Linked DNA regions of Homo sapiens: all the other regions are linked to region 2. The links are contacts of gene promoters, found by promoter capture Hi-C in human tissues and cell types (Jung and others, 2019). All regions are on one chromosome and are shown on one strand. The core of a region is centred on a gene start or on the middle of the fragment in contact, and the rest is flanking DNA. Distances in the headings are between cores, read along the strand shown. Region 1 overlaps CFAP20DC-DT (CFAP20DC divergent transcript). Region 2 holds the start of PTPRG (protein tyrosine phosphatase receptor type G). Region 3 overlaps CFAP20DC-DT (CFAP20DC divergent transcript).

Region 1 (4,022 bases), core at 154-2,653, 2.0 Mb after region 2:
GTCTGTCTCTTGAAGAGGCGGATCCAACAGACCAACACCCAAGAGGAGGGGTGAACTCTGTGTGTGATGCAGAGAATAAAACACATATACTTAAGCCTGTAACCTGAGCGTATCAGTTACAGGGAGCTATCAGGCAAACAACAGCATGCACTCTTAAGCCATTTATGTTACAGCATTCCTGGGACTCTTCTTTAAGAAATTGTTGCCTAACATGCAGTAAAATCTTATACAACAATAACTATTGCAATTATTAAGAGCTAACATACTGAGCACCTTCTGCGTTCTAAGCTCTCAATTAATTCTCATGAAACCTTGGCCTGGTAACTTCTATCATATCAGTTTAAGAGATGAAAGTGAAGCTCAAGGGGATTATGTAACTTGACCAACGTCACAAAACTAGTGAGCAGATAAGCCAAGATCTGGATCTAATTTGGTGTCCTTAACCATTATTTCCACCCTCCTCCCACAAAGAAATGAGTCTCACTGGGCAATTATAGCTTCACATTTATAAAATGAGAAATAGCATTTCAGGTTCTCAGGAAGACTGCAAATATCAGGAAATGCAATTGTTGTCAAGCACTTTGCATATGGGAAATGCTAAATCAAGCTAAATTAAATTCAACAGAGTTCTAGACAGTTAACAAGCCTTTATTAAACCCCTGCTGTGTTGGGCACCCAGCCGTGACTCGGGTTAAGCCTAATACTACTTAATTTATGAAAATGCTGTTATAATTATTCTGTTTCTTAAATTTACACGCCCTCAAGAAGAAAGTACAATTTACAATTAAATAGACATTATTTATTCCAATTCCTTGTCTTTCTTTCCATTCAGCACACCTTTATGAGGTACCTTATTGTAGTAGACACATCTTGGAGGGTCTGCCTAGGTCATGATTATTTCCCTCCTCCCACAATCACCCCTCCTTCCACACCCATGGAGATGGGTGACGTACAGCAACGTTGGACCATCTGGCCCAAGCAGGGCCGAACAGCTTCTTTCTTCCGTGAACTTGGAATCAAAATTTGCTCATCAGTCCCTATAAGTGGCTGGAAGTGGCATGTGAACTTGGAGAGAGTAGAGCATCCTTGCATCATTTGGACAGAGGATGAGGGGTCCAGATGACAGAGAGGGAGGAGAGAGAGCAGATGTTCAGGAGAGAAGCAAAGGAGCTAGACAGAGAGACACACAGACAGACAAATACAAAGCAGGGAGTTCAGAGCCCTGGTGAGAAATGTGGATTTGAAAGAAGAATGTCTCCGCAGAACCCCTACATGATGGTGAAGCTTCTGCTCTTACTACTACATTGTATGGAGTGAGGACTTTGCCCTGACAGATTTTATTGAGAGAATGCATAAATGAGGATGCTTTTAAAATATAAAACTGGCAAAATGATATTGTGAGGGATTGAGGAAATCTGTACTTTATTATTCTTTTCTATTCTGGGAGATCTAGTAATTTAAAACCATGCCATTTGAAGAAATTCCCAGCTACTGTTGCATTTCTTATTTAGCATCATTGCCAATAACATCCTAACCATAAAAACACACAGAACCTTTCAGAGCTGCCCCTCAGGGCATATTACATAGTGCCCAATCTTCAAACACTCCATGAAGCATACCTCACTCTCCCCTCCATCCACAGTCCTAAGAGACTTCTTTACTATTCCAAGTCCTCAGGAAAGATCAAAGCAGGGAAACATTGGTGTTTCTTTTCATGTGGCAAAGGATATGTCCTTCTCTAAGTTTAATTAATAATGGACCATGTGAAACACACTGTCAATAAAACACTGTTGTGTACTAGCAGGAAAATAAATGAGATGAAAAAAATATGCCTGTCTCATTATTCATTTGTATTGATCTAGATGTACAACCTTATGCATCACAATTTGACAAAAGGTTAAATATTAACAGAAGAATCATTAATCTAACAAAACAAAGTAACACAACAATGGCTCCCCTGCTTAGCTTTACCTATACCAGGGGGCTCTGGATGCTCTGAGGAACCTTTCAAACTGATGTTCAGTACCTCTCCTTACAGACCCAGCGACGAACTAGACTGGACCGTAAGATAAATAGCAGGAGGTTGTCTCTATGGATTGCAATCATCTTATTATACAAATGGACGACTCTTGCTATAAAGTTTCTGCCATATAAAACATAGAGGCCTCTTACCAAAGAAAACATCTGAGATATTATCCAACATGGAGCTTGGCACAAACACATTTTCTGAAAAATTTTAAAAAGTATTTTAGGCACAGTAGTTCCTTTCAGGGGTAAAGAAACATTTCTGTGAATTTTATCAGTTTTTCCAGCTTTATTTCAGTTCATTCTTCTGTTGAATTAATTTCATTTTTTAATAAAAACACTTTCTTTTGTATGTCCTTCCACCTTTCCTTTAAACCAGGTTTCAATCCATGAATCCATCCATGCACCCAACCCTGCACCCCATCAATGCACTTACCCATCCAGCCTTCCATGCACCCAAACATGCATCAGTCCACACACCCAAATATGCATCTGTCCACATATCCAACCGTGCATCCATCCATGTATCACCCTTGCACCCACCTATTCATTTATCCATCCATTGGCATTTGGGGTAATAAGAGGAGAGAGATTTGTTAGATTTTGGGCATAAGGGAAGGTGAACCATAGAGATGTTAAGTGACTTATTCAAGTCACTCAACAAACGTTAGGTCTAGAATTAGAAAGTTTCATTGAATCTTTCAGGGGTTCCTGTTGTTTTTCTTATTTTTAGCTTATAAAGTACCAACATAACGAGTACTTACTAAAGATCAAAAGATTTTGATAACTTACTAATTAAATTAGTTTCCCCTAAGAATTGAAAAAGAAATAAAAGTCAGGATTTCAAACATAATTAGGAAGACCAGACCACTATAAGAAATTATAGTCTGAAAGTTTATAGTAAAAGAGAATATGATCATTTTCAATAAATTTTTTTGTTATGGTCCTAATTTGGTCCTAAGAGTAGGTGCTAAGAGTAGGTCCATGTCTCTTCTAAAAATACAAAAATTAGTGGAGCGTGGTGGCACATGCCTACGATCCTGGCTACTCAGGAGGCTGAGGCAGAATTGCTTGAAACTGGGAGGTGGAGGTTGCAGTGAGTTCAGATTGTGCCACTGCACTCCAGTCTGGGTGATACAGTGAGACTCCATCTCAAAAAAAAAAAAAAAAAAAAAAAAAAAGATAACCAAATCTATTTGTCTGAAGAAAAGAGAGATGACATTTTACCTTTACCAAGTCATGCAAAACAGTCTTAATCAATCCCAAAGACACTTCACTGTGCAAATCCGTCACATTTTTCAGTGATGCTATGGATCTTGTTTTACATCATTCTTAAAATTATTGCCCATATTAACCACAATTAGATACTCCACATATAAAAGTACAAATATACACAAATCAACTTTCAGAAGAGGAGATTAGATTATTTAAAGAATAAGTGGCTGGCCAAAGTTAAAGGGCCACTTCGAACACAGATCTGGCTGTGTATTTGTATAGTATCTCTTCCAGTAATACCTGAGTGATTTGAAAGTATTTTATTCAGCAACACAGAATCCTTGTGAAACAGGTGGTAGCTCATCCATCATTTAAGCAATTCCTAAAAATCCCCCTCTTCCACAAAGTCTTCTAAGGGAGGGAAGACGGTTTTCCCTGGCCTCATCTTTCCTGGATCTAAAACATACCCAAGGCTCATCTTTTTTCTGTATTTTGTTAAAAATGCACTGACCTTCCATGTGAAAAGCTGCTCAGTGGCTCGCTATATTCCTTGGCAGGGGTCCAAGCTTATTTACGTCAATTTGTTAGCATCCTAAAATCTCCAGAACAGGGACTAAATCACCAACATGCAGATTGTGGAATCCTGGTAAATTTGTAATGCAGCAAAAGTTATCACCTCCATTTAAAAATCAGGAATAAAGAATTGGAGGTAATGTGAGCAAGGGATGCACAAGGAATTACAATCCACTACAAAGGAGGTGTTAGAATTCTTTGAGGCATGT
Region 2 (3,863 bases), core at 1,006-3,505:
TCCCCCGAGGGGATCCCCAAGGGCGACGAGGGCTCCCGCGCGCCCTGCTCCGGGTCGCACGACGGGACTAAGGGACCCGCTGCACCAAAAACGGGCGCTCCAGCCGCCCGAGGACAGGCGTCTGTAACCAGGCAGAGCGGAGACCTCGGGGCACATTCCTCTTTTTCTTGATTCAGATAACCTCCACCTCCGGGTATGCAGGAGTTGATGGATGAGAGGGCAGAAAAACGGGGAATTCTCTGTCCTTAGGGGAGCGAGGGATGAAAAGCAAATCACCCCTTCTTCCAGCCCTTCCCCGGGCTAGGGCAGGACTTGGCCTCCACCCCAAGGGACAGCTACGAGGGAGCTCGGGGCTGCTGCCCGGGGGACCTGCAAGAGAGGAGAGGGAGGCAGCTGGCCTCTGCCCTCCCCAGGGGAGAGAGGAGGGGGAACTGCCAGCTGAGAGCTGGAAGTGGAGGGTCGCCGAGCCGCACACCGTTACGTGCGGTGATTTATTCTTATCAACGGCCAGTATTGTTCCTGTCTTAACCTGGCCAGAAAGGAGCGAGACTGGGTCTGCCAGCCGCGAACAGCCTGCAAAAGGGCAAAGATGAAGGTAGGCAGGGCGCGCGAGACAGGAAAAAAATCAGCCCCGGCGCGAACAGCAACCCGGCCGCCGAAACCGCCCCGGCCGCCGAAACCGCCCCCGCCCCCTCCCCGCGTCCAGACCCAGGCAATCCAATCGAGCAGAGCAGCGGAGGGAAAGGGCCACGGGCCGGGGCTAGGGGAGACACGGATCTCTCCGAAACCGCCTGCGCCCTGCCGTCTCACTGCGCCCAAGGAGGCTGCCTCACGCCGGCACCGAAGTGCTGCCCGCGCCCCAGCCCCCAGAGAGAGGGAGGACGCCCCCGACCCAGAACGCAGGCTGCTCCCCACACATCCTCAGTCCTCCGCAGCCAGCCTCCGACTTCCATTCCCCGAAACCTAGCCCTCCCAAAGGGATGGAGAACAGCAAAGCAAACCCCCACCTTCTGAGTTCCTTCAATACCCGCCAGAGCGAGGGGGCTCATCCCGGGCCCCCCAAACCCACAGAAGCATCCTTTCCATGGCCTCAGTCTCCCCAACCGCCCCACAACTCGAGTTCTCCCGATCGGCGACGAGTCAGCAAAGCAAGTCCCCCTTTCTCCCGATTCCAGCTCCCCAGGACCCCCAAAAGGGAGCGGGAGCAGACCCCCGCGTCCCCCAGCCCCCTCCCCGGCCAGCCCCTGCCTCCACCTTCCTCGACCACTAGCCTGCCTCCCTAAACATCATCCAAGCCAGCGGAGCAATCCTTTTCTCCTATCCGGGCGCCGGGCCACCCTCCACCCTCTCCAGGGTCTCCCGGACGGGCGCCGGAGCTCCGCGCCCAGGCGACAACTCCGCATCCCCAACGCGCGCCGGCCGGGGCCGCATCCCCTCGGCGGCCGGCACTCACCGGGGAAGCACACGACATAATGGAGCACGGAACTGGTGATTTTCAGGAACAAAATCCACCAACACGGTTCCAGTAACCTCCGCATGTCCGAAAACGCACATCGAAAAGAGGAAAGCAGGGAGGTAAACTTGTTGAATAAGTTCTTGCCTCCGTGCGAGCCTCCGCTAAGCCGGGGCGCTTCCCCGGCTCGCCCGCTCCACGGGCCCCCCGCGCTCGGCGGCCCGAGTCCCCTTGGAATCCGGGAAGCCGCCGAGCGCCCCCCGGAAAATCTCAAAAAGTGACCGGGAACGCAGAGCCACGCTGGGGACGATCCTCTCGGCGGAGAAAGGCTGCTTTCCGTTTAAAAAGGAGAGAGCCGATCGGGCAGGGCGCGGAGTCGGCGGCCGGCGGCGATGCCCCGGGCCTGGGGCAGGCAGGGACCGCGGGCGGCGGCGGCGAGCAGCCGAGGATCCCCAACTTGAGTCGGCAGCGCAGCACAGCCCGAGAGCCGGCGGGCGGCGGCGGGGCTGAGCGCGGCGCGGCGTCTCCGGGCTTCAGGCAGGCAGCTCCTTCCAGGGCCCCGGGAAGGAAGGAGGCATGTTTGCGAGAGGGGAAGGGGAGGGGAGAGGCAGGGGGAGCGGAGAGCCCCCCAAAATAGAAACGGCCGGAGGAAACGGAGGAAAACACAAAGGATCTCAGAGGGGCGCTGGGGCGAGGGCGCCTTCAGTCCATGCTCCTGAAAGTTGTGGCTCCGGCGCAGGCTGGGAAGGAACGAAGAGCGCGGGGCTGGAAACTGGCCATGCCTCCATACAGGAAGTAACATGTGAGCATGGATCCTGGCAGAGACTTTAAAGCCGGCGAGCGAAGGAGCGAGCGAACAGGGGGCGCGCGGTGGCGGCGGGGGCGCGCAGCCCGGGCCAGCTGGCGGCGGGCGCGCGCTCTCCGCGTTCTTAAAGCAGCCGCGCTTGGCTCCCGCCTTGCGCTGGGTCCCTCGGCTCTGCTCTCTCCGCGCGGCCTCTACTGGGACAGTTTGGGGACTGGGGGCGATTGTAGCCCGTGCGCGGAGAGAGGAGGGAGGCTGCCTTCTGGGGCCGGCTTGTTTTTTGCTGGATTCCCGTTGTTCGAGCTCTTAAAAGACGCCGCACGGTGCTCGGGTTTGGCGAGATCCTCCGCGCAGCTCGCGGATCCCGGACTTGAGGGGCCCCTCGCCCTGGCGAGGGGAAAGGGGGAGGGCGGACAGCTGCCTTTTTAAAGCGATGGGGTTTTCTGTTCGGCTTCACTGCCCTGGCATTTGCAGCGGTGAGGCTCACCGTCTGCGGCTCCTGTTCGCGCCTCCAACACAGCGCATTCCCCCGCCGGGAAACAAAGCCGAGCGGCCTTTGCACTCCGGCTACATTGAGATTTAATTTTTTTTTTTTTTCTTTTTCGGGCTTTCATTGGCCCAGTCCAAGGCTGGGGAAAGTGGGGGAGGGGAGGAATGTCGATCCCAGGATTGCGAAATCTAGCCCTTCCGAGCCCCGCATCCCCTTTCCCGGCGCCACGATGGATCGGTGGCGGAGTTTCCCCAACTCGCAGCTTCTCTGGAGAAGGTTCCCGCACCCCGGTTTGGCCGCGGGGAGGGCGCAGGAAGTGCGCCTCTTACACCCTGCAGGGTGAAAGCAGCGCCGCGGGGCCGGACTGATTTCCTGGCAGCTACCCGGGGAGCGGCTGCTTCTTTAGCAATCGGGGAGAGGCGTCCGGGGGAAATGGGAGGACTAGGCTTATCTGTAATGAGTTTTGTCCCTTGGCTCTCGGTAAGAAGATCTTTATCGCTTAGACTTCTAAGCGCCCTATTTTACATTCTTAACGCTGGGGCTAAAAGTGGGGGAGGCGGGCTTTCGAGTAAATGTGTAACTGAGCCAAGGTAATTAGCCGTTTGACATTTTTTGCCTAATTTTTCTGCCTGTGTTTCAAAGCGATCTTGACGTGGGATTGTTTTGTTTTGTTTTGAGACGGAGTCTCGCTCCGTCGCCCAGGCTGGAGTACAGTGGCTCGATTTCGGCTCACTACAACCTTCGCCTCCCGGGTTCGGGCGATTCTCCTGCCTCAGCCTCCCGAGTAGCTGGGACTACAGGCGCCCGCCACCACGCCCGGCTGATTATTTTTTTGGTGGTTTTTTTTGTTTGTTTTTTGTTTTATTTTGGTTTTTTTTGTAGAGGCGGGGTTTCACCGTTTTGGCAAGGCTGGTCTCGAACTCCTGACCTTGTGATCCGCCTGCCTCAGCCTCCCAAAGTGCTGAGATTACAGGCGTGAGCCACCGCGCATGGTTCTTGTGTTTTAAACGTGTCCCTGCTGTTTCATCCCAACACGGCAGGGTCCTCCACCCACCCAAACATCCCAACCGGATGCTAGGTTTTCAAATAAAGTACAGATGGTCGGAGATCCTCCCGTT
Region 3 (3,961 bases), core at 777-3,276, 1.9 Mb after region 2:
CATTGTATTTGTTGATGTCAGGGACCACTGGATAACTCGGGTTGCCCTGCCACTTCACAAAATTGGAGTTGGGATGGCCAATAGGCTGCTTCCACTGAAACTGCAGGACTGAAGCATCAGTTCTTCATGAGCTAAAAGAAATTCCACCCCAGTCACGGCATTTTGGTTTAGGTGTGGATCTTGAGACATCATTATATAGTATAAGGGCTGAGTGGTTCAGAGACGTCTTTCTCCACATGGAGGCCAGAGATCATCATTATCACACGAGATGTTTCTAGGTGGGGCTCATGTTCCTGTTCTAAAATGTTCACAGTTGAGTATTTCTTTTGATGTGTATGAGGTAAACCATAACCAGTATTTCAAAATCATATTTTACACAGATATTATGGTTATTTACTCATATTAAAGTTTAAAGATAAGTCAACTTAAAGAAAGTACTGAGTACACAGAAGCACAGGTGGTGCACAGATACAACAGAACTCCAAGTTTGGTCTGGGCAAACCAGAAAAGGCAAACACAGCTCTCTCCCCAGGACCTGGGAGACCTGGTCTCGTGGCTGCGATTGCACCAAGCCTTAGTTCCTTTATCTGCAAAATGGGAGTGGATCATTTTCAATCAGCCACCAGCTGCAGATTGTTGTGAGGATACAGGGAAATAATATGAGCAGTGCCTGCCACTTACTAATTGTATTTATTAAATTTTAGCATGGAGTTAAACTCTTGATACACTTTATCCAGTCAATCCTTATGGCAATCTTATGTGGTAGATGCAGTTAATCTGTTTTATAGAGGAGGAAACTGAGACTCAGGAAGAGAAGAAGCAACTTGACCAAGTCACACAGGTAAGAGGAAGAGCTAGGATCTATATCTATGTCTCCCAATTCTCAAATCCATGCCCTTTACCGCCCCTGGGTTGTATGTAAGTGTGAGCTCTGCAGCGTCTGTTGAAATGAACAGCACGAATATGGAAAATGAGCTGCATGGAAGTCGGGGCTTGGCTGCTCTGTTCATTGTTGTGTCCCCAGAGCATTTGGGACAGCTCCTAACATGCTGTGGATGCTCAGTAAATGTGTACATGAGAGAGAGAAAAGAAGGCAAAAAGGGAAGGGAAAAATCCAAAAGAAAGGAAGAGAAGGACGGTAGGATGGATGAATGGGAGGAAGGAAGGGAGAAAACAGTCTTTGGCAAGATGAAAGTTTGTGTTTTCTACCTATGAAAACAAAATGTCAGAGAACCAGACTCATTGCTTGGAGGTCAGGAGCTGCCATCACTGCTGAGGAACAAACAAGAGAACCTCTTTTAACCACTGACAGGTTGGTTCATCGGTACACCGGCTTGTTCTGTGCTAGAGTAGCTAAACCATCAGGAGTGTCCCATAGAGGAATTAGAAGAAAGGGATGCAAAGAACAGTAAATTTTCACTGATAGGAAATCAACAGAGAAGATCGATAATAATGCATATTTGTCCAATTATCTTTGAAAACAATTTTGACACCAAAATAATATATACATCAGTATATATAAGCTTACCTTCTAATATTATAGAATCGAAAGTTGGGAACTATCATTGAAAAATAATCTTGTTCTAAGCAAAAACTGAAAAAAGAAATATATAAAGATTAAAGATTTCTATATAACAAAATATGTCATGGAGTTAAAAAAATAAAACTGAGAAAAATTTATGTAAGCTATTCAAAAGACAAACGACAGCATTAATATCCAGGATATATATAGTGTTCTCATGAATCAATAAGGAATAGACAAATGAAGTATTCAAAATATTGAAGAGAATTTAAACAGATTTGCACAGAAAAGAATGCAAAAGTCCAGTAAATATTTGAAGAGATCTCAAGCTCTCTAGAAGTTGGGAAATTGTAAATTAAAACAAGATTGGCAAAAAAATGCTTAAAATATTGATAGTAGTCTATTGGTTATTATGGCCTTTGAATATACAGTTGGTGAGAGCATAAATGGATGGAGCTTTCATAAAAGTTAATTTAGCAGTATTTGTCAAAATTAAAAGTGGACAGGGCTTTTGACTCAGCAGTCCTTTTTCTTGGACTCTTATCTTTGGAAACACTTGCACAGGTGGATATAAATGGGATCCTACGGGCATTCATAGCAACATTATAATAGTGAAAAACTGGAACCAGCTTAAATACTTATCATTTAGAAGAACGCTTGAACGAATCGTGGTACATTCATTCTATGAAGTCTGTTCAAAAGAATGAAGTGGACCTATACACACTGAAATAAAGATCTCCAAGATACATTATTGGTGAAAAAAAAGCAGGTTACAGAATAGCATATATAATATGATGCCATTTATGTTAAAAATAAGATACCTATGTAATATCTAAATATGTGGTATACATGCACAGAAAAGGGGGCTTGGAAATATGTACCCCAAAATAATGACAGAGATTACCTCTGGGGAACAGAATTGGAGCAGGAAAAGTTGAAGGAAAACTTTCATGGTTTGCTTTATATGTTTATGCATGGCCAGAATCAGAATGTATTCATGTATTACTAATATACATTTTTAAAATAACAGAAAAAGAAAGAATTTCAATTTCTCTGAGCCCTCCTGAACCTACATCATCCCCTAAACTGAGATGCGTTTGTGGATTTTTTGCCTTTTATTTAATTGCTTTTTCACTCTATCGCAAGCTAATACCTGGATGCCCCTGGCACACTTTCAGATGTCTGCACACGCTAACACAATTCACTTGGCATCACAGAATCTGAGAAACAGCAAAGGCCTTGGGGATGATGTAACCCATTTCTCTCCTTTTAGAGATAATGCATGGAGAGTTTCAATGGCTTGCTTATGATCTCACAGCAAAAGAACTGTCAGGGTAGGAACTAGGAGCTGGCTCTTTGGCACCAAGTCCAAGTTCTTCCCATGGTACTCCATGGCAAGGGAAAGTCCATTGCAGGATGAGACCCCAGAGGCTGCTAATGGTCTCACCAACTGCCTTTCACCTGCACCAGTGCTGCCCACTACCATCCACTGAGCAGGTGGAATCTGAGGCTGTTAGGAGCAAAGACTTTTCCCAATGCATCATGATTCCCACAACGCCTGTGCTAACTCACTCTGAACAGCTGTGAAAATCCTGCCCGTGTTCAACAGCCCTTGAAGTTTCTCATTTTTGTCTTGAAGTGAGTGAAATGTGGCAGAGAAGCTACCCATTACAGGACCAGGGGACACGGTTCTAGACTCTTCTCAAGTCCATATGCTGCAAAGATTTTAAGGACTCCCTTCACGTCTCCAAATTTTTTTTTTTTTTTTTTTTTTTTTTTTTTTAGACAGTGTCTCATTCTGTCACCCAGGCTGGAGTGCAGTGGCACGATCCCCACTTATTGAAGCCTCCATCTCCTGAGTTCAAGTGATCCTCCTGTCCCAGCCTCTTGAGTAGCTGAGACTATAGACACATGCCACCACACCCAGCTAATTTTTTTTTTTTTAATTTTTAGTAGAGATAGGGTCTTGCCACGTTGCCTAAGCTGGTCTCTAACTCCTAAACTCAAGTGATCCTCCTTCTTCAGCTTCCCAAAGTGCTGGGATTACAGGCCTAAGCCACTGTGCCTGCCCCCACTTTTTTCTTAAATGCACTATTTTTCCATAATCAAGGTGTTCAATGCACATGCTTTGTAGTTACTAAACTTTACTTAAGCTATTTTTCTTTGTGAGTTGACTTAGCAATAATGCATGCTGCATATGAGCTTTTATGTCTGTCTCACAATAACTCTACTTTAAGTTTACCTCTCTCTGTGAAAACAGATTCCTAAAGAGCATGGAAATTTCATCTTTTTAACTTGAATTGTATTTTATTTCTTTATGTATTTGTTTGCCTTGAAACAAGGTCTTGCTCTGTTGCCCAGGCAGAAGGCAGTGGCACAGTCCTAGCTCACTGCAGCCTCATACTCCTTGCTCAAAGAATCCTCCTGCCTTAGTCTCCC

The links. Contacts are between HindIII fragments. The study calls those that stand out against the background at their distance.
Region 1: a contact is called between a fragment that was not itself captured here and the fragment with the promoter of PTPRG in region 2, in 1 of the 25 tissues and cell types used here (dorsolateral prefrontal cortex).
Region 3: a contact is called between a fragment that was not itself captured here and the fragment with the promoter of PTPRG in region 2, in 1 of the 25 tissues and cell types used here (lymphoblastoid cells).

The regions. Positions count from the first base shown.
Region 1 is chr3:59,591,359-59,595,380 of GRCh38, reverse strand. The region is part of intron 6 of CFAP20DC-DT (CFAP20DC divergent transcript); the gene reads right to left. Among named protein-coding and RNA genes, the nearest start is that of CFAP20DC-DT, 510 kb to the right of the region's middle. The HindIII fragment of the contact is 5,594 bases long and covers 1-4,022 here.
Region 2 is chr3:61,559,963-61,563,825 of GRCh38, reverse strand. PTPRG (protein tyrosine phosphatase receptor type G) reads right to left here and starts at 2,255. Exons shown (of 30, transcript NM_002841.4): 1 at 1,454-2,255. The coding sequence starts at 1,538. RefSeq lists an enhancer at 3,478-3,863. The HindIII fragment of the contact is 9,021 bases long and covers 1-3,863 here.
Region 3 is chr3:59,672,217-59,676,177 of GRCh38, reverse strand. All of the region lies in intron 6 of CFAP20DC-DT (CFAP20DC divergent transcript), which reads right to left. Among named protein-coding and RNA genes, the nearest start is that of CFAP20DC-DT, 590 kb to the right of the region's middle. The HindIII fragment of the contact is 3,044 bases long and covers 505-3,548 here.